Regions from separate parts of the Homo sapiens genome. Here all the other regions are linked to region 7. The links are contacts of gene promoters, found by promoter capture Hi-C in blood cells and fetal thymus (Javierre and others, 2016). All regions are on one chromosome and are shown on one strand. The core of a region is centred on a gene start or on the middle of the fragment in contact, and the rest is flanking DNA. Distances in the headings are between cores, read along the strand shown. Region 1 overlaps MAPRE2 (microtubule associated protein RP/EB family member 2). Region 2 holds the start of ZNF24 (zinc finger protein 24). Region 3 overlaps RMP24 (ribonuclease MRP subunit p24). Region 4 overlaps RPRD1A (regulation of nuclear pre-mRNA domain containing 1A). Region 5 holds the start of ZNF397 (zinc finger protein 397). Region 6 holds the start of SLC39A6 (solute carrier family 39 member 6). Region 7 holds the start of TRAPPC8 (trafficking protein particle complex subunit 8).

The links. The method cuts DNA at HindIII sites, captures the fragments that hold promoters and counts their contacts. A CHiCAGO score of 5 or more calls a contact.
Region 1: a fragment that was not itself captured here is called in contact with the fragment with the promoter of TRAPPC8 in region 7 in 1 of 17 cell types (naive CD8 T cells); the score reaches 5.2 in naive CD8 T cells.
Region 2: the fragment with the promoter of ZNF24 here is called in contact with the fragment with the promoter of TRAPPC8 in region 7 in 1 of 17 cell types (non-activated CD4 T cells); the score reaches 5.9 in non-activated CD4 T cells.
Region 3: a fragment that was not itself captured here is called in contact with the fragment with the promoter of TRAPPC8 in region 7 in 1 of 17 cell types (total B cells); the score reaches 5.1 in total B cells.
Region 4: a fragment that was not itself captured here is called in contact with the fragment with the promoter of TRAPPC8 in region 7 in 1 of 17 cell types (total CD4 T cells); the score reaches 5.8 in total CD4 T cells.
Region 5: the fragment with the promoter of ZNF397 here is called in contact with the fragment with the promoter of TRAPPC8 in region 7 in 2 of 17 cell types (naive CD8 T cells and non-activated CD4 T cells); the score reaches 5.9 in naive CD8 T cells.
Region 6: a contact is called between the fragment with the promoter of SLC39A6 here and the fragment with the promoter of TRAPPC8 in region 7, in 2 of 17 cell types (non-activated CD4 T cells and total B cells). The highest score is 8.3, in non-activated CD4 T cells.

What each region holds. Positions count from the first base shown.
Region 1 is chr18:35,045,615-35,048,961 of GRCh38, forward strand. All of the region lies in intron 1 of MAPRE2 (microtubule associated protein RP/EB family member 2), which reads left to right. Among named protein-coding and RNA genes, the nearest start is that of MAPRE2, 5.9 kb to the left of the region's middle. The HindIII fragment of the contact is 4,794 bases long and covers 1-3,347 here.
Region 2 is chr18:35,343,049-35,345,992 of GRCh38, forward strand. It overlaps ZNF24 (zinc finger protein 24), which reads right to left and starts at 1,372. Exons shown (of 4, transcript NM_006965.4): 1 at 1,312-1,372. LOC124904283 (a long non-coding RNA gene) reads left to right here and starts at 1,006. Exons shown (of 2, transcript XR_007066337.1): 1 at 1,006-1,691. RefSeq lists an enhancer at 690-749 and a silencer at 1,430-1,599. The HindIII fragment of the contact is 2,541 bases long and covers 1-1,706 here.
Region 3 is chr18:35,975,219-35,978,501 of GRCh38, forward strand. RMP24 (ribonuclease MRP subunit p24) reads left to right here. Exons shown (of 5, transcript NM_031446.5): 4 at 2,192-2,382. Among named protein-coding and RNA genes, the nearest start is that of RMP24, 4.2 kb to the left of the region's middle. The HindIII fragment of the contact is 1,393 bases long and covers 853-2,245 here.
Region 4 is chr18:36,063,447-36,066,734 of GRCh38, forward strand. The region is part of intron 1 of RPRD1A (regulation of nuclear pre-mRNA domain containing 1A); the gene reads right to left. Among named protein-coding and RNA genes, the nearest start is that of RPRD1A, 2.5 kb to the right of the region's middle. The HindIII fragment of the contact is 5,831 bases long and covers 1-3,288 here.
Region 5 is chr18:35,239,451-35,242,484 of GRCh38, forward strand. It overlaps ZNF397 (zinc finger protein 397), which reads left to right and starts at 1,584. Exons shown (of 4, transcript NM_001135178.3): 1 at 1,584-1,659; 2 at 2,941-3,034. The coding sequence starts at 3,021. RefSeq lists enhancers at 1,266-1,375, 1,321-1,846 and a silencer at 1,636-1,765. The HindIII fragment of the contact is 1,449 bases long and covers 718-2,166 here.
Region 6 is chr18:36,127,436-36,130,589 of GRCh38, forward strand. SLC39A6 (solute carrier family 39 member 6) reads right to left here and starts at 1,905. Exons shown (of 10, transcript NM_012319.4): 1 at 1,679-1,905. It overlaps ELP2 (elongator acetyltransferase complex subunit 2), which reads left to right and starts at 2,464. Exons shown (of 22, transcript NM_018255.4): 1 at 2,464-2,636. The coding sequence starts at 2,499. RefSeq lists enhancers at 1,703-2,208, 1,831-2,125, 2,156-2,345, 2,209-2,714, 2,506-2,715. The HindIII fragment of the contact is 4,684 bases long and covers 1,383-3,154 here.
Region 7 is chr18:31,941,871-31,944,738 of GRCh38, forward strand. TRAPPC8 (trafficking protein particle complex subunit 8) reads right to left here and starts at 1,258. Exons shown (of 29, transcript NM_014939.5): 1 at 738-1,258. The coding sequence starts at 894. RefSeq lists enhancers at 153-931, 1,033-1,242 and a silencer at 863-982. The HindIII fragment of the contact is 12,839 bases long and covers 1-2,868 here.

The sequences.
Region 1 (3,347 bases), core at 528-3,027, 3.1 Mb after region 7:
TTGTGCACGTGTGTGTATAAAAGAGTTGTGAAAGTGTGTTCCATTCAATAGAGGCTATTGTAACATGGCTCACTTTTATCAGAACATAGGCTTCACATCACATTCCCCAAAACAGCAGTTATAGATTGCAAAAGTCTACGTTCATGTCTTTATTATGTATTTGTTAGTATCATCTAGGTTTAATACTGTCAAAGGAGGTTTTCCAAAAATAAAGATTTTTGTCCTTACTATTTTTCTTAGTGTTTGTAAAAATCAGAAGATTACTTGATGCTTTAGTACATGCCCAACTCTGGAACTTCTTTTACGGATTTTCAGAGCTTCTGTTAATGGAATGGTCTTCCGGGTGCTCTTGCTTTGGGGAGAGGCTCACTCCTGCTCTGTAGCTGGTATCTGTTGACAGTGCATTATCTTAGAGCAGTGCTGTGAGATTGTCCTCTGGAATTCAGAAGGTTGATTTCCTTATGCAGCATCTTTTCTTTATTTACAGGGACCTCTTGAAGCTGCAGTGAATAATTCTAGATTAATTGGAAGGGGAAATTTGGGACTAATTTAAATATTCTGTTTGGTTTAGAGAATTAATTAATTTTACAAATATTTGAAAGTCTGCTCTGGCCAAGGTCTGTGCTAGATGCCCCTTGAAGGATCTTGAGTCCTAGTAAAGTCCGATGGAAAACCGCTCATTTTGTAAAAGACTTACAGTGTTGGTATTTTGCTTAGTCTGATAGCGAAAGTGGTTTGCATTTCCTGAACCCCCAGTGACCCAAAGGGGGAAAAAAAGTTTCTCTGAAGTCCAGTGTGCTGTAGGAAGCTAAAAGACACTGAGAGAAACCAGAAATTTTGCTGAAAAGAATGTAGGCTTTAGGATCAGGCAGAATTTTCACTGGCCTGGCCAGGTGTGTTGGGCAGTGGTAGAAAATAAAAGCATTGAAAAGCAGGCGGGGTAGTTGGAACTTGGAAATAAGAAGCTACTGAAAGTTTATTGACTGAAGATAGTGTAATGAAAACAGATGCCTACTGCAGTGGATCTTCAGTTTTGAAATGAGAGCTAAAAGGAAAACGGGATCCCAATGCACCACTGTGTGGGTCTAGAATCACTAGAAAATACTTAATGCCATGCGAGAGCTTGAGCCCTCTAATGTGCAGAGATCAGGACTAGGTAGATGTTCTCTGGCTCAGGATGTCTTTCCTTGAGTAGAAGCAATGAATGCAGCTTTGTTCCATAATGAGACTGGTACTTAGCCCAGACAGTGGCTTTTATATTTGCAGATGCCCACTTCATAGCTATCAGTCTAACTTTTAGGAGTGGCAAGTGTGGAGAGCTGCCACTATTCTGATCTTCCCAAACAATGAACCAGGTTTCTGGTTCATTATGAAGCATCTTCCCTTGGCATTTAATGATGTAAAAAGTTCCGATGTGGCTGATGAAACTGCTCAGGACACTCCCTGTGACTTTGGGGCCAATTCCTCTGACAGTTAGAAGGTTATCACCTTGGTGGCAGACTCCAGAGTGGATGGAGTTTACCCTAAATAGTGTGTGTGTGTTTACTTCTTATTTTAGTCAATTTCACTTTAAAGGACAAATTGATTTTCTTCTCTCCTGTGAGAAGTATCTTTTTTCTACAGTGAATTAAGTTAGAATATATATCTAAGAACAGTTTTATTCTTCCTGACTTCAGGCCATCTTTCAGCTAGCTGCCTCTGTAATACTACATTGAGTATGTCAAACTTAGCCAATATCTGAAGCACTATTCCAACAGCCCTTTTTCTTTCTAACACTCCACACACATCCCATTGGTATCATACAAACCTTGTTTCTTAGCTCATTTTAAAATTCCGATTGTTTATCTTAGTGTTTCTGGCCCTTGGTCTTTATTATTAGATTGAGAGAATTCTCTCAAAGTGGAAACCTACAATTCACATAGGCAAGAAATTATGCAACATTTACCTTATAGCATAAATCAAAGAAATTTCTCCTAAATATGTTTTTATAAAATGCCTCCCCAAAGATGATCATTTACTTTAATGAAAATAAATCATTAGCAAGGTAAAGACTGAACAGAGTTTTATAGGCCACCAATAAATAATTTCTTAGTAGGTTACTTAAAAAAAAAAAAAAAACACTGTGTTTTCAGTGTCAAATCTCCCCAAGTGAATTAAGATTTTACTCACTTGAACCAGGACAGAGTTTCTTAAAGAATTACTGTCTTTTCTAAGGGAGCAGAAGTTTGTGATAAATACATGAAATGATCAAGTTGACAGCTTTGAGTGATGGTGTCCTCTAATGCTTATCTAGTTAAGAAAATATGGCAAAAACTCAAACTTTCTGTGATTTCTAGGCCTCTCTTTGTTCCAGCAGGTAAAATGACCATGCTGGAAGAATCTGATTTTAGCAATGACTTTGGAACAGAAAGACAACATGGCAAGAGGTTTAATTGGCTTACAGTTCTGCAGGCTGTATAGGAAGCTGGCACCAGCATCTGCTCAGCTTCTGGGGAGGCCTCAGGGAGCTTTCACTCATGGTGGAAGGCGAAGCGGGAGCAGGCATGTCTCATGGCCAGAGCAGAAGCAAGAGAGAGGGAGTGGAGGGGGAGGTGCCACACACTTTTAGGCAACCAGCTCATGTGAGAAGTCACTCAGTGTCATGAGGACAGCATCGAGCTATGAGGGACCCGACCCCATGACCCAAACACCTCCTACCAGGCCCCACCTCCAACACTGGGGATTTTAATTCAACACAAGATTTAGAGGGGACAACATCCAAACTATATCATATATTTATATAGTATTAACACATATACTATATATGTGTGTGTGTGTGTATTTATACATATGTACACTATAGAAAGTATATATACACATACATATATACTTTTAGAAAGTATAATTATATATGTGTTACATATAGTATTAACACATATACTACATATACTATATTCACACATATATAGTAGTAACATATATGTATTATATATGTGTGTATGTATACTATATACACATAGTATTTATAGTATTAACACATATACTATATGTGTATATGTGTTTATAGTATATGTATTAATACTATACGTACACTATACTATATATACTATTATATATAGTGTATATATAGTATATGTGTTAATACTATAACACAATGGTGAGAACTGGGCATATATAGTATGTGTTAATACTATATATAACACATATATATGTATATATAATTATACTTTCTAAGATTATACTTCCTAAAGGCATTTTGGCTATCCATAAAAATTTATACAGAAGAAAATACAAATTTTTATAGAAATTCACATTTTAATTGTGTGCAAAATCGATCCTGAAGTTTATGGCCAATGTTTGTTGTTGCG
Region 2 (2,944 bases), core at 122-2,621, 3.4 Mb after region 7:
AAAAAATTTTCTTTACCATTTAAAAAATATTTTTAAGGTGTTTAAGAACTCCTTGGACTTATATGTGAAAAAATGTTCACTTGCTGAGTAGCAGATCACATAATATTGAAAAGATCATATGTGAAAAACATCACATAATTTTGAAAAATTATCTTGCACATAATACGTAAATATTCAGTCTTCCACCACACCATACGTACATTTATATTTATAATGATAGGCATTAATCACAGAAACTTCTATTAAGAAAAGGCACTCGCATAAGCACCTTGACTTCCTGCAGTGGTCCAGTGTCTTGTCCTTACACTGGAGGACTCACAGTTTCCCCAGCTTCTACCTTCAGTGAAACTGTATACTGCTTCTGGACCTTTATTATTTGCACGATCATGCCCGTGCTGTTGTTTACGACACATACTAGCAATGAGCCATTCAGCCTATTTATTTATTCAGGGCCCAAAATCTGAACAATAACAACTTAAAAAAACTTATTGTAACCCAAGCAAGATGAAGACTAGAATCAGAAAAGGCCTTATCAGACAAGTAATACATACTGGTTTAATTAAATACCCTGGAGTGTGGTGGCCTTATACATAAGGTCTAGCCAACATTCATTCGTTCCTATTCCAAGACCCTGCTTATCAACGGTGCAAGTATTTCTACATAATTTTCTCTTCCTTTTATGCTGTAGAGCATACCGCTTGTGGGAAATGGAGGGAAGGCCCACGGTCCCGACAATGTTTGGGCAGGGTACCTCGTCCCAGGTGGATCGCCCACCTTACTGCTGCATAGACCTGCTGTGTATCCCGGCCCCGGCCCCGGCCCCGGCCCGACGTCCTCTAGCCCCTCTTCCCAGCACTCAGGACCGCGGATTTCAGATGACCAAAGGCCACCCTGTGACAACAGCGTCGGAACCACGGCACTTCCGCCTGCGGCCGGTGAGACTACAAATCCCAGAAGCCCCGCGCAAGTCTCGTCCCACTACCACCCCCTCCCATCACGACTCCCAGAACCCTCCGCGAGACGCCAGGGCCTCGAAATAGAACAAAACCGGCCGGTGGGGGAGGGGGAAGGTGAGGGTCTCGGAGGACACAGGGGGTTAGAGAGCTCTCTGCAAATGCCGAAGACCCAAGCAGGCCTGCCGCCTACCCCTCCCCGCCCCACAACTGCTAGGCGCGGAGACCGCGGCCTGTTCCCCGCGCCTCCCGGGAAGCTGAGGAAGGTCCCGGACAGGCTTCCCCGCCGGCTCCTGCTAAGAGGTCCGCAGACCCTAGCCCGGTGTCCCCCCTCCCTCTCATAACGTTCCCCGCACACCGGCGCAAACCTCCGGCTCAGGAACCGCAGCAGCTTCGCTGTCCACGGCAGACGCAGAAACGCCGTTCACAAGCCTTTTCCCAGAAGCCCCCGGCGCGGGCTGCTTCCGGTCTGCGGGCCTGAGGAGGCGGGGAGAGGTAAAGCCCACGTTGCCATGGAGAAGCGCCCCGGGCGGGGGAGGGGCGGCCCCACGACAATGACCGCATTGAGGCTGCGCTTGGCCTCGCGCCTCTCCTCGAACAGCCCAGCGTCCTCTGGACCGTTTAAAAGAAAACATAAAGAGGACTCTACCATTAAGATAGTCCTTACAATTTCGCAAGCCCTTTCACGTGCATTATCTTGTGGATCCTCTCAGTAATCCCCTGCAAGAAGGAATGAAAGTGAGTGTTTGTGAAAGCTTACTACATTGTGCCAGGCGCTCTCGTCGTGCTTTACATGTCATTTTTTTTTCCACAAATAAATGATGTAGGAACTTTCATTATCCCCATTTCACAGCTGAGATAGTTGAGGCACAAATACAGTAAATAACCTGACAAGAGCTCACAACTCATTTGTGGGTAGCAAGATTTGAAACCAAGACGTGATTCAAATCTTTGGCTCCCACTAGTTATGTCATGGAGCTTTATTCCGACCTATTTATCTGTCAGGAAAACTAGATAAGACAGGTTAAGAGTTTTGGCAGTGATGTCACGGTGAATTTGTAGAATGCATGGTCATCTTAAAGCTGGGCATTTTATACCATAAAACAACTGCTGACGCGATCATTTAAAATTACAAATCAGACCACTTCACTCCCCTATTTAAAGCCCTCCAATTTATGTCATAATAATTTATGACATAAAAACTCCTTATAATGGCCTGTAAGTCCCCTGTGGTCTGTTGCCTGCCCGCACCCCCAGACCCTGGCGCCCCCAGTCACCTCAGCTCCTCGGCTCATTGTGGCCCAAGATCCTCAGCCTCACCACCTGCCTTTCATGGCGCATGACCCTTCATGGCACTGTTATTAATGGAAGTGATCTCATTTATTTACTTGTTTTATTTTTTGTTTTGTTTTGTCTTTAAGTCCCTTAAGGGCAGGGACCTTGTCTGTCTTGCTCACCACAGTATCCCATCCTAGATCCTGGAAGCTGACTGCCTGGTAAATAGAGAACTCAATAAATATTTGTTGAATAAATAAATGAATTGTGGGATGGTTACATTGCTGCCTTTAGCTAGGTCACATGATTGGCATCAGACACCACACAAAGGAGCCCTGTTGTTTAAGGACTGGTCAAAAGTGTAGATCCAGCCTAACATAAGCATTTCAAGATCCTCAGGCTTTGACTTTTTGCCTCATTGGAGAAAATGCCCTCTGAAAAGTGCCGTCAGGCTCCGCTGGATTCGTGCATGAGAGAGCAAGTGAGCGAGCAGCTGATGGTATACCACTGCTTTTCATTCCGACCAGAGCTCTTCTCACAACCCCTGCTAACACTTCTCTCCATTGCAGGAAGCTTCAGAAGTACAGCCTTTTCACTCTGCTACTTGGATACGGCCCCTAAGCAACTTGGCTGCTCTTCCCAACCTTTCCCTCTTATCTGATTTGTAAAGGCTAGCTGAAGGCATTTTTGTTTTAAGAGTTTTTACATCTAATTAA
Region 3 (3,283 bases), core at 299-2,798, 4.0 Mb after region 7:
ATATATACATAAACACTTCTCTAATGATTAGTGTTTCATTATAAGGACAGCTTACTTTTATTTTTCATGATTACCTAAACCAAACATGGTGAGCTCTCAATTGTTTTGAGATCCCATTGTTGAGCATTATTTTTCACAAATGTGCGGATTTCTTGAACTGACCGTTATGGCTCCACCTAAATTGCAGTTACCACTACATTATTTTTTCAGTTAATGCTCCTTTGCTTCAGATAGTACTATGTTATGTATGTAGGTATCATGTCACTTCTTCAGCTGTCCTCCCACTCCATGTCAGAGTGGATTTACAGGTATGCCCAACAAAGGTGAATGCATCTTTTGTTCTTTCAACATTTTATTGAGGGTCTATCATATGCCAAGCAACATTTAATATTGGGGATATAAGATGGAATAAAACAACCAAAATCAGATTACGTACGGTTTACTATATGGAGGCCAGTAGCAAATACACTTTATATCCCTGCATATTTTATGTTAACATTTATCAACTGTTCAAGTGCCTGCTTATTGTCTATCACTGTGCCGGGCACTGGACATTATGACAGCTTATGTCTGGCCTAAGACTATAATTAGCAATTACTTGGATTGAAAATTGTCATATTTAGGAGTTTACCAGTGTTGGTCAGGTAGGTGCATTTTGCTTTGTCATAAAATTGAATGGTTAAAGGGAAAGAAAGAAGAGATAGAATATTGAAGTGAGTATGGAATTCGGTTTCTTAGTTCTTGGAGAATTGTATTTTTCAAAAATCATTACTGCCACATATTTGGAAAATGTTCTTAAATGGGAAGACAGCAAATGCTGCCTCACTATCTTGCAGTGTTTTGCCCTCATGAAGCTTACATTCTAATGTATTTTAATCAGAAGTCAGCTAGAAAGGTGCTAGAGGTATTTGTTTTTCTGATTTTTTTTTTTTTTTTTTTTTTTTTTTTTGAGACGGAGTCTCCCTCTGTCGCCCAGGCTGGAGTGTAGTGGCGTGATCTCGGTTCACTGCAAGCCCCACCTCCTGGGTTCACGCCATTCTCCTGCCTCAGCCTCCTGAGTAGCTGGGACTACAGGTGCCCACCACCACGCCCGGCTGATTTATTTTAACCTGTATACAGCCTCCTTCCAAAAAGTGTAAAGCAACATAGACCTTTGATAGATGCAGATCTTCCATTGGCATTTTCATCTGCTCATGAACATCAAACTACTTCTCACTTAAACTAGTTTGTATTAATTTGCCGAGGCATGGGCTGAGTCCTGTGCACAGTCAATTAGATATGTAGAAGAAAGGAAATTAGCTAGAAAATGGACCATTTCTTGAGAAATGAATCTTGAAAAGAAAGACAACCTCTAGAGCTAATGATGGGAGTGGAGAGGTGTGAGAGTATAACAACTCATTTGGTTGTATAAGTTACTTTAGACCTATGTTTACAAAATTGCTAAGGATTTGAAGGGGCTACTTAAATTTCCAGTGATACTGTGCCATGTTGTTTTTGGGAAGAGGCTTGAAGTTCATCTGCAAAAAAATATTAAATGCTTACTGCTGTTACAAAGAACATTCCTCCAGATGTTAAAGAGTATTATCTCCCATCTCTTCCCAAATTCCCACCAAACATGGTTTTATATTTAAAAAGTAGAGTTCATTATCTTTGAAAACCTATTTTAAATTAAATACAAATGTTTAGCCATTCATTTTTATTGAACATTTTCTCATTTAAAATTTGTCGGCTGGGCACAGTGACTCAAGCCTGTAATCCCAGCATTTTGGGAGGCCGAGGCGGGTGGATCGCCTGAGGTCAGGAGTTCAAGACCAGGCTGGCCAACATGGCGAAACCCTGCCTACTAAAAATACAGAATTAGCCAGGCACAGTGGAAGGCGCCTGGTCTCAGCTACATGGGAGGCTGAGGCAGGAGGATCACTTGAACCCAGGAGGCAGAGGTTGCAGTGAGCTGAGATCACGCCACTGCACTCCAGCCTGGGGACAGAGCAAGACTCCGTCTCAAAAAAAAAAAAATGTCTTGTCTGATTCTCGCTACTAGATTGCAAGTTCCCCAAGGACAGCCTCTATTTTACTTACCCCTATAGTATCTGGTGTAGTCCCTGACATTTAAGAATTCAATGAACCTGTGGTTTATGGGGTTAAATTATAAGATAAATGACGGGACTGATATTTCTTATTTTTATGGTAGTTGATCACTTGTAAAACATGCAACAGAACAGTGAAACATCATGGTAAAAGTAGAAGCTTTGTGTCAACATTGAAGAGCAATCCTGCCACTCCTACAAGTAAACTCAGCCTGAAGACACCAGAGAGAAGGACTGCAAACCCAAATCATGACATGTCTGGCTCGAAAGGCAAGAGCCCAGCATCGGTTTTCAGGTATCTTAATCCATGAAGTTTTTGAATTGCCAGTGTTAAGTGTTTTCTTCTAATTTCCTGTGTTTAATATATACTCCCTAAATATGCCATGCATTTCAGGACTTGGCCATTTTTCCTCCATACCCTTTTCTAATGTCACATACTCCCATATCTTCAATGCTCATTTCAATGCATTTGACTTCTAGGTATGTTACTCTACTTCCAACATCTCCTGTGCCTATTTCCAGCTGCCTGCTAAATATAACCACTTCAGTCCCCTACATGTTCAAAACTTAGTTCATCATTGCCCCACAGCTAACCACTCAAACCTGTCCATCCTCCTGAGTTCCTTATTCTGTGAATGAACACACCTTTCTGGACATTTTGACCTAAAATGACAGGTACATTCAAAAATCCCTATTCCCTTGGTCCTTGTCACCGATTTCTATATATCCTACTTCCCTGTTTTCATCTTTTTGCTCCTTTTTCTCCATAGTGCTGCTATATTCTGGTTCAGGTCCTTATGCACCATTTGTCAGGACTACTGCAGTGATTTTCCTCATGGGTCTCCCTGCTTCTAGGATCAAACTCTTTTAGTGTGATCATCTTTCTGGAGCATAGCTCTGATTAGAAGCATCACTGTGTAGCATATGGATAAATGCTCTAGCATGGCTTTCCAGCCCTATCTGGCACCAGTCTGTCTGCCTGTCTTTCTTTGCCTTAAATCATCCTATGTGCCAACAAAACTGAACCATTCACGGCCGGGCATGGTGGCTCACACCTGTAATCCCAGCACTTTGGGAGGCTGAGGTGGGCGGCTCAGGAGTTCAAGACCAGCCTGTGCAACACGGTGAAATCCCATCTCTACTAAAATACAAAAGATTAGCCAGGCGTAGCGGCGTGCGCCTGTAGTCCCAGCTAT
Region 4 (3,288 bases), core at 693-3,192, 4.1 Mb after region 7:
CATGAGCCACAGTACCCAGCTCATTCTTTTATTTTAAACAGTAGCTTCTCCCACTCTCACATTTTTGTCTTTACACACTTTGAGAAACTAAAGAATGCCTAGCTTAACACAAAATGTTCAACTAATTTTCTTTAGTTTGTTGTAATATACTTTCAAGATTGATCGATTCCTTTCATAATTATTCTGCAGAAATAATGTGATTCAAGATATGGTAAAATAACTAAAAGAATGTCTGGTACTCAGTAACTGATTGCCATTATCATTAAACTACAGGAGATGAGAATCCTGAAGTTGATGAGCAAAACTGCAGGAAAGGGGAAGGACACAAAGGCTACACCCTGCAAAAGCAGTCATCTGTCAAGAAAAGGAAACCCTTGGCAGAGTAGCCCAGGCTAATATGAGGATTAAAGCGGCAGCGGTATGTTCATCAGCATCACCGTTACTATCAACACTATCATCACTACCACCCTCCTCCTAAAGCATCTTTTTATATGCTTTAACGTTTTCCACTTATGAAACACTTAAACATATGGAAACATCACAAACCTTGCTAAAAGCACATCTTACAATTTTACCACATTTGCACCATTTTCTTAAATACATTAAATATTAGATAGCTTTCTCCTATTGAGAGGTGACAACGTCCTAGCAGCCCTTGCTCGCTCTCGGCGCCTCCTCGGCCTCGGCGTCTGCTCTGGCCGTGCTCAAGGAGCCCTTCAGCCCGCTGCTGCACTGTGGGAGCCCCTCTCTGCGGCTGGCAGAGGCCGGAGCCGGCTCCATCTGCTCTCAGGGAGGTGTAGAGAGAGAGGCGCCGGCAGGAGCCTGGGCTACGCGCGGTTCCGGGTGGGTGCCTGCTGGGCTTGATGGGGGACGAGCTCCCTCTGGGCTGCTAGAGTGCCCAAGCTAGGTGCCGCAAAGTCCCGCGGCGAGTGCCATTGAGAGGTGAAGCCAGCTGGGCTTCTGGGTCAGGTGGGGACTTGGAAAACTTTTCTGTCTAGCTAAAGGATTGTAAACGCACCAATCACCACTCTGTGTCTAGCTCAAGGTTTGTAAACGCACCAATCAGTGCTCTGTGCCTAGCTAGAGGTTTGTAAACACACCAATCAGCACTCTGTGTCTAGCTAAAAGTTTGTAAATGCAACAATCAGTGCTGTGTGTCTCGCTAAAGGATCATAAAACGCACCAATCAGCACTCTGTCAAAACGGACCAATCAGCTCTCTGTAAAATGGACCAATCAGCAGGACGTGGCTGGGGCCAGATAAGAGAATAAAAGCAGGCCACCCAAACCAGCAGCAACAACCCGCTTGCGTCCACTTCCCTGCTGTTGAAGATTTGTTCTTTCACTCTTCACAATAAATCTTGCTGCTGCTCACTCTTTGGGTCCCTGCCGCCTTTATGAGCTGTAACACTCACCGCGAAGGTCTGCAGCTTCACTCCTGAAGCCAGCGAGACCACGAATCCACCGAGAGGGACCAACAACTCCGGATGGAAGGAACAACTCCAGACGCACTGCCTTTAAGAGCTGTAACACTCACAGTGAAGGTCTGCAGCTTCACTCCTGAAGCCAGCGAGACCACAAACCCATCAGAAGAAAGAAACTCCAGACATGTCTGAACATCAGAATGAACAAACTCCGGACACACCATCTTTAAGAACTATAACACCGCGAGGGTCCACAGCTTCATTCTTGAAGTCAGCGAGACCAAGAACCCACCAATTCTGGACACACTATGACAACCACTATCTTGGAATATGGTGTTAATCACTACTATGCATATTTTAATATAGGTATCTATAAACAAAAGAAGTACTGTTTTGCATGTTTTTAGACTTTACCCCCATAGCATTATTCGTCTGTACCTTGTTTTCTTAGCTCAAGATTTTGTTTGTTTTTCAATTCAGTCACGTTGTTTCATGCAGCTCTAGTCCATTCGTGAGAACTTTTCGATAGTATTACATTTTATTAATATCACAATTTATTTGTCCATTCTCAAACTAATGGAATGGTTTTTTTGTTTTCTTATTTTTTGTAAAGAAAAGGTTTCACTATGTTGCACAGGCAGGGTCTCACTTGTTTTCAATTTTGTTATTATGAAGCTGCAATAAACAATTCTTGAGAACAATACTTATTTCTAGAATATATTCCTAGAAAGAAAACTGCTAGGTCAAAGGATATATTTAATATATACCTCCAACTTCATCAACTAAGTTGATCTACAAAATAGTTACATATTTTTACATTCCCACCAAGTGGTATAAGAGTTCCTGTTTCTCTGCAACAATTATCCATATTGTCATATTATTTTGCCAAATTGATGAACATAAAGTGGTACCTCACTGGCTTACTTTTTCCTGATTTGTAAGATTAAGTATCATTTATTGACCTTTCAGGTTTCCTCACGTGAAATGCCTATAAACAGTACTGCCATTTTTTTTTTTTACTGATTTGTAATAGTTATTAAGAGAGTCTGGGTATCAACCCTATACTGATTACATGTGTTTCTAAATGCTCTCTGCAAAAACAAAAAACAAGATAAACCTGTTACCGATTCTGAAATCTAGTAAAATGTAAAAGCAAAGCTAATTCCTGACTTTTCAAAGTTCACAGCTACTTTCCAGACCTTTATATCAGTGTTTCTGAAACCTTTCCGTCCACTCACAGAAGATGAATTCCTCATTCAGGGCCAATACACACATACTTACACATAAACTGAAAAACAAGGCTGTAAATCAATTTCTTCTCAAGGATGGGTGACGTTTTCATAACCACAAACAATATACAAGGACAGATTGTCTCCATTATATACAGCCAACATTTTGGCTCACATTTTGGCTGTTACGTACATACATCATATAGCTTTCACAAGGTTCAGTAAGCAAGCGTCTATTTTGATTAATAACGGTTAAAACCTTTAACACTTGATAAAAAACCATCATATCCATCAGGATGTTTGCAACAATAATGAAGAGTGTCCACTCTACCCAATGAATTAAGAATTAAAGTACAAGCTCAGACTAAGCAAATGAAATTTTTTATTTTCAGTCGCACTAGGATAATTTTTTACAAAGTTGCTCTGCATACATGAACTGATTCTGAATATTTTAGTGACAGACATCTCAAAAAAGTTTACTTCATTTACAGGAACACTATCAAATGTTTTGCAAAACAAAGACACTGCATTAGGGCATATAATCATAGAATAGGAAAGGACTTTAGGTGACTTACTCTAAATCTCTCCTTTTCAGGTAAGGCATCTGCAACGCAGAAGTTATAAGAAACTTGCCCA
Region 5 (3,034 bases), core at 334-2,833, 3.3 Mb after region 7:
AAGACTTCAGCAATTTGAGTGAAGCCATCTTGGACCTTCCACCCCAGTTAAGTGAAGATAGCTGACACATCATAAAGCAGACTAGCCATCTCCGCTAAGCCCTTCCTGAATTCCTGGCAACAGAACTGTGAGCAATAAAACATCTGCTGTTTTTAGTCACTAAGTCTTGAAGTGGTTCATTATGAAGCAATTGATAATTTATAAACAAATTAATATTATTTGGTTTTTTGCTTTGTAAAATTGCTGTAGTCATTTCACAATGATAAAATTATTTAGTGAGTCACTAATAGCTTTGAATGCTAACGAACATTTTTCTCAAATATGTGTTTTAAGTCTTGGCTCACAAAGGAGAATTTGTTTCTATGTATGTATGTATCGCTTTGTTATTATCCTGTGTACTTTTTTAATATAACATTTTAAAAATATGTAACATTTAAACATGTAAAATGTAACGTTTTAAAAATAAATACAAATAAATGGGAAACGATTTGCAACAAACGAGTTGCTATCCTTAATAAGCAAAAAATTCTCACAAATAAAAAAGAAAAATCTTACTCCCTTAATTTTTTAAATGGGAAAAGCCATCTCTGAAGAACCATAAATGGTCAGTAAACATGAAGGGGGACTATCTTAAGCTCACAAAGTTGAAACATGAGGCATCATTTTTCACCGACTAAATAGCCAAAGAAAAATTTAAACAGTGAGACAATACCAGCAAGCTTCCACTGAAGAACGGGAAGACCCTAAGATAGGCTCCAGGAGTCTACGATACCAGTCTCCTTGAACTATGGGGACGTGGACGTCCCTGGTCACAAGTTGCCTGACTTTGGGCGATGTCTACGGCTGTAAATTTGGGATTATATAGCCACAGCACAGAACTGTTGTAAGGCTCCAGTGATACTCATAGGCAAAAGCAATATAAGTGACTGTTAGTTTTTGTTCAGCCTATTCATCCTTACATTTACTTTTGTCGGAAAAGAACTGGAATCACAGGAAAATCTGAGGTTTTTTTTTTTTTTTTTTTTTTGAGACAGAGTCTCGCTCTGTCGCCCAGGCTGGAGTGCAGCACATCTCAGTTCACTGCAAGCTCCGCCTCCCGGGTTCACGCCATTCTCCTGCCTCAGCCTCCCGAGTAGCTGGAACTACAGGCGCCCGCCAACATGCCCAGCTAAATTTTTGTATTTTTAGTAGAGACGGGGTTTCACCGTGTTAGCCAGGATGGTCTCTATCTCCTGACCTCGTGATCCGCCCGCCTCGGCCACCGCGCCCGGCCGAAAATCTGAATATTTTAATGGAAAACTGGGAGTGAGATTCGGGAATTACTTGAGACCAACAATGATGGGTGGTGCCAGGAGAAAGCCAGGGTGGGAACGGCCCAGGCGAGATGCGGGACCCTCCAGGTGCCGCCGCTCACAAGGACCCCTGACTCCTAGCGCACCCTCCCCTGGCCTTGGAGATTCCGCCGGGCTAGCGGCTACCGGGAGAAGGCGGTGGAAACTGTAGAGCCCGCGGCTCTGATTGGCTACCTCAGAGCAAGGGGCGGGGCGGCGGAGGACCCGAAGGGCGCGAGAGCGGAACACTGCGTACGCGCACTTCCGGTCTTTGTGGCTTGCAGCTCGGGGTGGGTGGCTCATTTCCTGGCCGCTCCTGGGCTTCGCGGTGAGGGACGTGGGCCCCTAGGAAGAGGGAGGTGGGGTTGGGAGCGCGCGCCGGACAGTGGAGGAGCTCCGCTCCTCGGCCTGCCCATCCCCAGGTCGCGGCCCTTTGGCCCGCGCGGCGTCTCCAAGCGACTGGGGAACTCAGAGGAGGCCAGCACTCAAACTCCTGCTTTCCAAAGGAAAACGCAGTTCCGCTGACCCCGTGACTTCGTAAATGCTGCGGTTTAACCAAGGATATAAAAATAGAAGGGCTAGTTAGTTAGTTAGTTAGTGCGGCCGGACTGGTTAAACCTTAAATTTGTAGGCTAAATATTTTAATTCATCTCTTAACGTTAACCGTAGTGTGAGGAATGAATTTTACTCATCTGTCCTGACAAACTAAGGGCATACATTCCTATCGATATCTCGCCATCCTAAAAGCAGGTCAAGTTTGGTCTGTGTCACAACATTTAATACCTATTTGTTACCATATTTTGCTTTTGAACATTTTTAGTCTTGGGATATTCTAAGCTTTTTCAGAACTGATACGGATCTCTTTGCTGCTTTTGTGTATGTGATACCTATCATGTTTTTGAACACATGGTAAGCATTTTACAGATACGTCTTGGTTCTTGGTCAATTCCTCTGTAGACTCGTTTATTCATAAGCAAAAATCTTAATGCTCAGTAAGTGCCTCAGTGTTTGTTGAAGTAATTCGGTAAACACCAAATGCGATCAAATGACAAATATCCAATATTTACATCAACTCATGTTTAATGTGAACTTTTAAAAAAACGTTATTACTGCCTTAAATGAAAATCAACATTACTTGCTTTAGATAGAAAGTAAGTAAAAATAAATGTTTAAAATCAGTATTACTAAATTCTGCCTAAATATTTTTACTCTTGGAAGTCTGATTCTGAAGCCTGTATTTTATTTAAAAGAGAGTTCTACAAGTTTTATTAATACATACATGTTAAAGATAGACTTTTCTCCTTGATACAATCAGAATTGAAAGAATTGGAAAGGAAATTTTCTCACTATGTGATTGATGTTAATGTTGCATTCACATTCTTAGGCTTCTAAAATAGTTTTTTCTAACATTAGTGGTAGGAATTCTTCATAATGGGAGACACTAATTGAGGTTAATGATTTTTAGTTTATCATCACATTATTGTTTTATTTAGTGATAGCCCCAAATCTACTCCCTTTCAATATATTACTAAAGTTACTCATCTTTCTTATTACAAGTACTTAGAGATTTTATTGATTGCTGTAAGTTAACTGCTTTTATATCCTTCAGGAAAGAAGAGATTACTCACACTCCTTCGCAAGCACAGAACCAGTTGTACTGAGCTTTTTGCTAAGCTGTTTCAGCCAAGAATGGCTGTGGAATC
Region 6 (3,154 bases), core at 655-3,154, 4.2 Mb after region 7:
GGCTGAGGCAGGCAGATCACCTGAGGCCAGGAGTTTGTGACCAGCCTGGGCAACATTGTGAAACCCTGTCTCAAAAAAAAAAAAGAACGAAATGAAATCTAGCTACCTTGATCATCACCATCATTTCATAAAATAACCTTCAAACACCAAAAAATAGAAATAATAATCTCAGAATTCACATATTTAAAAAATTTTAAACTAATACACTCTCCTTACATACAAGCCCATTTAAGACCCCTTTCCCCAATCACAATCCTCAAAGGTGCTCAATTTTGCCAGTGTATCCCTCAGGATATTTTCTATGCATACTCAAATACATGTATACTTAATTTTTTTTTTAAAGTTTTTTTTTTTTTTTTCTAGAGACGAGGTCTCACTATGTTGTCCGGGTTGGTCTTGAACTCCTGGCCTCAAGAGATCCTCCACCTCCAATTCCCAAAGTGCTGGGATTACAGGCGTGACCACTACGCCCAGCCTCAAATAAGTGTATACTTTAAATACACATTGAATCTTTTTTCCGACTTGACAATGAATCAGACACATTATGTCCATACATAGAATTCTTAAAGTAAACTGAACTTCATGAAAAACTCACTGTAGCATCCTTGTGTTACTACAAACCAGTCAACATTTAATCACAGGCTGTTAATCATCCACAGTAGTGTTTGGAACCAAAGGCCTGTGCCCCAAAGAGGAGGAAGCAATTGAGTTGGAGCTTGAAAAGCAGAATTCAGTTAAGCAGAGCCAGAATTCAGTTAATTCAGATCCAGCAGGATGTCCAGCACCAACGGTGGAGGTGATGGTGGTCAAACTCACATCTCCAGCAAAAGACGCAGACGTCAAGTTTACAACTAAGCAAGAGCATGGGGCTATCCAGCTCTACCACGGTCAGCTGTTCTTTGGACAGGGCTCTCGCATTCATTACCTTATCTAAAATACCGGTAAAACCTATTTTGCAAGGCGAAGGAGGAAAACACATGAAGGAATGTATATTACAAGTACTCGTTAAACTCATGTGTTGCACAAGTGCGAGGTATCATACAGGGAACAGTGGGAAATGGAGGTACGGCGTAGAACGAGGCTCCTGAAAGAGGAATCTTTGGGGCTTGAAGTTTCGGGAATTCTTTTACTAGGTAAAAGATAAACATTTAGAAATCATTCCCAGGAGAGAGGCGAGGAGCGGGGTGGGAGGGGACTAGCACAGGGGACAGCTCCGAGCCTTTCTCCAGGGAGGATGCTGAGCGCGGTCGTGGACCCGTTGAAGGATCTCCTTTCCTGCAAGTTGGTGTGTGCTGGAGGAAAAAGGAAAGCAGAAGGGAAGGGCCTTAGAGAAAAAGGCGAGTACAGAAAACGGAAAAGAGGGCACAAAGCTCTCTTCTAAAAGCTTTTTATTTCTAAACACGTCAGTCCCTTCTTCGAATATGGGATGAAAAGTACGGATCTTTTCCTCAAAAAATCCTCCGTTGCACCCCGAAGCCCATCTGAGCACCTTAAGAAGTCCGGCTCTCTAGGGTGAGTGGGCGCCTGCGGCGGGCTCCCCCCAGCATCCTCTTTCTGTAGCCCCCCTGCCCGGTCCGCAGGATCCGGTTCTCCGCAGAACCACCCCTACCCCGCCACGCCTGTCTGGCCTGAGGAGCTCCCCTCCCAGCCGCCCTGCTCCCGGACCTGAAAGACTCACGTCTCCGCGGCCTCGTTGTCCCACGGCCCGGCCACGCGCGCAGGTTTGGTTCCACACGGGCGGTCCAGAGGGCTCGGAACGGGCCCACTGGTGTCTTCGAGAAATCTCTACCAGGCGCGAACACGCGGTGGTTTCATTGGGTTGGCTGCCCCTCGGTCCGGGGGCAGCGCCGCGCAGCCACCCGGCAGCCGCGCCCCTAGCCTTCGCGAAGCTGGAAGACAATCACTAATTACCGCCGCGCGCAGCGCCGCGGGGAACCACCGCCCCCTTCGCCCAGGACTGCAGGGCATGCGCAGTGCGACCCCGGAACCCGGCTCCGCAGACGGATCCGCTTTTCCGTGTGTTCGCCGACGCCGCGGGGGCGTGGCGCGGCCCTAGCGCATTGTAAGCAGTTGGGGGTCATTTCCTCGAGGCCCTACTCGCTAGCCAGCGCCCCCGGGGCCAGCCCTGGCTGCTGCTGGGAGCCGGGTCGTAAGGGGCAGCGAGATGTTTCTGACGCTGCCCCAGGCACATGAGCCCCGGGTCCTTCGGGAGGGTCCCGAGCCACTCGGGTCGGATTTCGCTCTTGAGACAAAGGCCTGGCTCGTTCGCGGAGCGGGGCCACGGTCCAAGAGCAGAGCTAGCAAAGCGGCGGCCTTGCACAGGGGTTCCAGCCTGCGGTGGGAACGGAGAGTCTCAGGGGGGCGGGGCTGCCTCCGTCTGGCCCTCGGCTGGCTGCGAAACGTGGACTGGGTGATGCCTCAGGAGAAACCACCCTAGTAGTTCCGCTCCGAGGGCGGAAGTGCGCGTCTCTTGTTTGTGCGGCTGACCAGTTGGCGACATGGTGGCACCCGTGCTGGAGACTTCTCACGTGTTTTGCTGCCCAAACCGGGTGCGGGGAGTCCTGAACTGGAGCTCTGGGCCCAGAGGACTTCTGGCCTTTGGCACGTCCTGCTCCGTGGTGCTCTATGACCCCCTGGTAAGAGAGGTCGCTGGACGGCCGACCCTTGTGCTTTTCGGGTTGAACCTGTGGACGTGCTCCGGGCGCGCTGTTAGTTGCCGCCCCAGACCTAGGAGGCGAGTCGGGTCGGCTCAGGGGAGCGGGGTTTGGGCTCGGAGTCTCCAGTGGACCTGCCGGACTCGCTCCTCACCCCTCACCCTTTGCCGTCTCACGCGTGGCGTCATCCTAGGGTCATTGCTGCCCATGAGCTGCTAGTAACCTGTTAGTCCCACGCAGAAACCCGAATGATAAGCATCTTACCTGAAGCCTTCCTTGGGAACTGTAGTACCGTTAATCAATTTGGGTTTTAAAACAATTGAAATTTATATGTAGATTAAAACCATCATCCCACAGGTGCAATCTCATTTCAGTATTTCCTTCAGTTTTGGTTAATGAACTTTTGTTGTATTGAATTTCAAGGAAATGTTACCTGTGTTTTAGCTACGGGAATGGACATTTTAGAGAAAGTGTCAGTTTGGGGGAAAGGTCATAGGGGA
Region 7 (2,868 bases), core at 8-2,507:
CAAAACTGGAGAAAACGGGTAGCTTCTTAACAAGACATTCATTAACAAGAGAAGACATTTCCATCCCTATAACTATAGATAACTCCAAATATCCAGGTTAAATTAACCACAACTTGGGCTTGCTTCCTCTTCCTTAGGGCAAAAAGCTGCTTCAAGTTTTATTCTTCTTATAATACTTTTAATTTTCTTGAGAGGTTAAGCAAAATACCGTATAGCTAAGAATATATTAGTAAAACAGCTACACGGTAGTTCAGACAGAGATGACCCTCAACGCTACAAGAATGTAATAACATCCACAACTACTTTCAAAGTCCAGTTTAACATCCAAGGGAGGATGACAGGTCTTCCTTACTCAGACCCTGTCGGTCTAAGAGGCAGCATTTTCCTACCTTAGCTGCTTTGCAAGTGCCTAATTCCTTCGCTATGGCCGTGGAGAACAGTCTCAATGCCGTTCTCGAAGACTCACGTTTATCTTTGCACCAATTACTTAACGACCTAGGTTGTCCGAGGAAGAAAGGAAGTGCCCAGAGAAACTGGAGCTTAGGACTGCGCTGTCTTGACAACCTCACGGTCCCTCCTCCAGCCGCCCCCGGAGCACCGCGGGGCCACAGCCCCAGACGCCACGGTACCGGCTCCAGGACGTAAACACTGCCCTTCTCTTCCCTGCCCGCCCGCAACTTCCTTCTCCCGACCACGGCTTTGCGGGAGCCCACTGGAAAAGGGAGGATACCACATACCCTCGGAAGTGAGGCGGGAGAAGGGCTTAAGCAGCTCCGCGAAGCTGAGGTGATTGAGACGAGTGAGCCGCTCGGCTTCGTCGCTGCACAGCGCAGCGACACAGGGGACGAAGGAGTCCGGGATTAGCTCCTGCACTGATTGTACACACTGGGCCATCGCCGCAGCACAGGCAGCGGCGGCGCCCGCCCTCCGGCCCACCCTGCGAGGTTATCCTGCGGCTGCAGCAGCTACCGCCGCCGCCCGCCGGCCTGGCCCGGCCGGGCGGGGCCCCGAACGCACTGGAGCCTAGAAACAAGAAGGAACAGACGCCGCCGCTTCGGTTTCTGGGGCACAATCCACTGACCCCCCCCTTCCCGTCACCGCCGCTTCTCAGCGCTCGTCCCCGCGTGCTCGCATTCCACCCCGATAGGTGGAGACGCCGACAGTCACCACTTAGTCCTTCGGACGGCAAAACCTTGGTCACTGCCCGGCCGGAACCGCCATGTTGAGGCCGAACCCTGACCAACCGGCAGTACTACTCCCAGCTGCCCCCGCGCGCGTCCCTCACGTGACTGTGTTAAAGGAGACGGTAGGGGCAAGGGAAGAGAGCTGAGGAGAGGGAAGTGAAAAACGACGGAGGCCGGTTGGGAGGCTGGAGCCGGAAGTGTTGTGACGGAAGCTCCCTGGGCGGGGCGGGGCTACAAGTGCGGTGGGCGGGGGCGGGGGCGGGGGCGGGGGCGGGGGGAGGTGCACAACTGTAGGCCGGGTTCTCAAGCTCGCCCTTAGCAGAGCAGAGCTGAGAGCCACCTACTAGCGGCAGGTGGAGCCTCGAGACGGGTGCTGTCGTGGTGATGGAGGCGCACGCTCGCTTCCCACGCAGTTTGGCCTTTTTGACGTCCCTGGCTGTTGTGGGCAACCGATTTGGTTGGTCGCGCTGCTTCCTACGCTCGCCGGCGGAGCAGCTAGTGGCACCTGCTCGGAGAGAGGGAGTGGATCTCTCGGAAGTGCTTGGGGTTTCGCTGAAGCGGACCTGAACAGACCATGTGTCCTTTAAATACAGCCATGCTTTTAGAAACGGACTGTCACTTTATGTGGACTCAACCATTGAACAGAATGTGTGCTTTTGTGAGTGCTGCAATTCCTTCAAGTGTAATTGCGCTACTGCATTTTTGTTGGTCGCAGGGAAGGGGTGTGCCTGCAAATGTCCGCGTGGTTCGTCCTCAGCCTCTTCCTTTTTACACTGTGCTAGGATGTTTACTTGCTTGTGGTGGAGGTAGGGGAAGCCAGTATTTGTGTACTGTGTACTGTCCTGAACCGGCTTTCATTCCTAACTTTTCAAAGATTGCTTTAAAGGGGGGGGGGCGCGGGTCAAATATTGTTTTAAAGGGGGGGACGGGGTGAGGTCAATGGTGTGTGCCTTGTAAGTAGAAATGAATGAAAGGAATTTTACTAATGTGTCACTCAATTGTTTGAGCTCCTTCTGTTTTGCATGCCAAAAATATAAGGCAAGGAAAAATGTATCATTCTATCATGATTTTATGGTGCTCTAATTAAAGGTGTCTTCCCCAACGTCAATGTCTCAAATTTTTCGACTTCTTGACACCCTCAGGTTTTCACTAAGGTAATAATTTATGACAAGTAAGATGTGTGCTTCTCATGTAAGTTGATAAATGGGAGGTAGGAAGGCACAGTAGGACATATTGATGACATGCCTTGGCTACAGATTAATTTATAAGAGAGTCCATCACTTTAGGAGATTTATTTGCCGAAGTTAAGTACGAGCCCAGGAAACAGGTCTATGCCTTTCTTCGAAGATGATTTTGAGTGCTCCAAATTTAAAGGGGAAAGGGCGGGATATTGAGAAGCACACCGTTTTCATGTAAGGGGGCGGTAGGAGAAAATAGTAATTCTTGCCTTTCTCTGGCTCAGTGAATCTGCATTTTTTACATAAGATGACATAAAATGGGCAGAGGAAGAATGTGGGAGTCTGCATTTTTCATAAGATAACAGACAAAATGGGGTAGGGGAACAATCAGATAGGCATTTGTGTCTGGCGGGCTGGGGTGGCCACCTGTAAAGATAAGCTATCAATTTGCATTGCCATGAAGTTTTAACAGCACACTAAGAATTTCCTTGTGGGCAAAATACGGG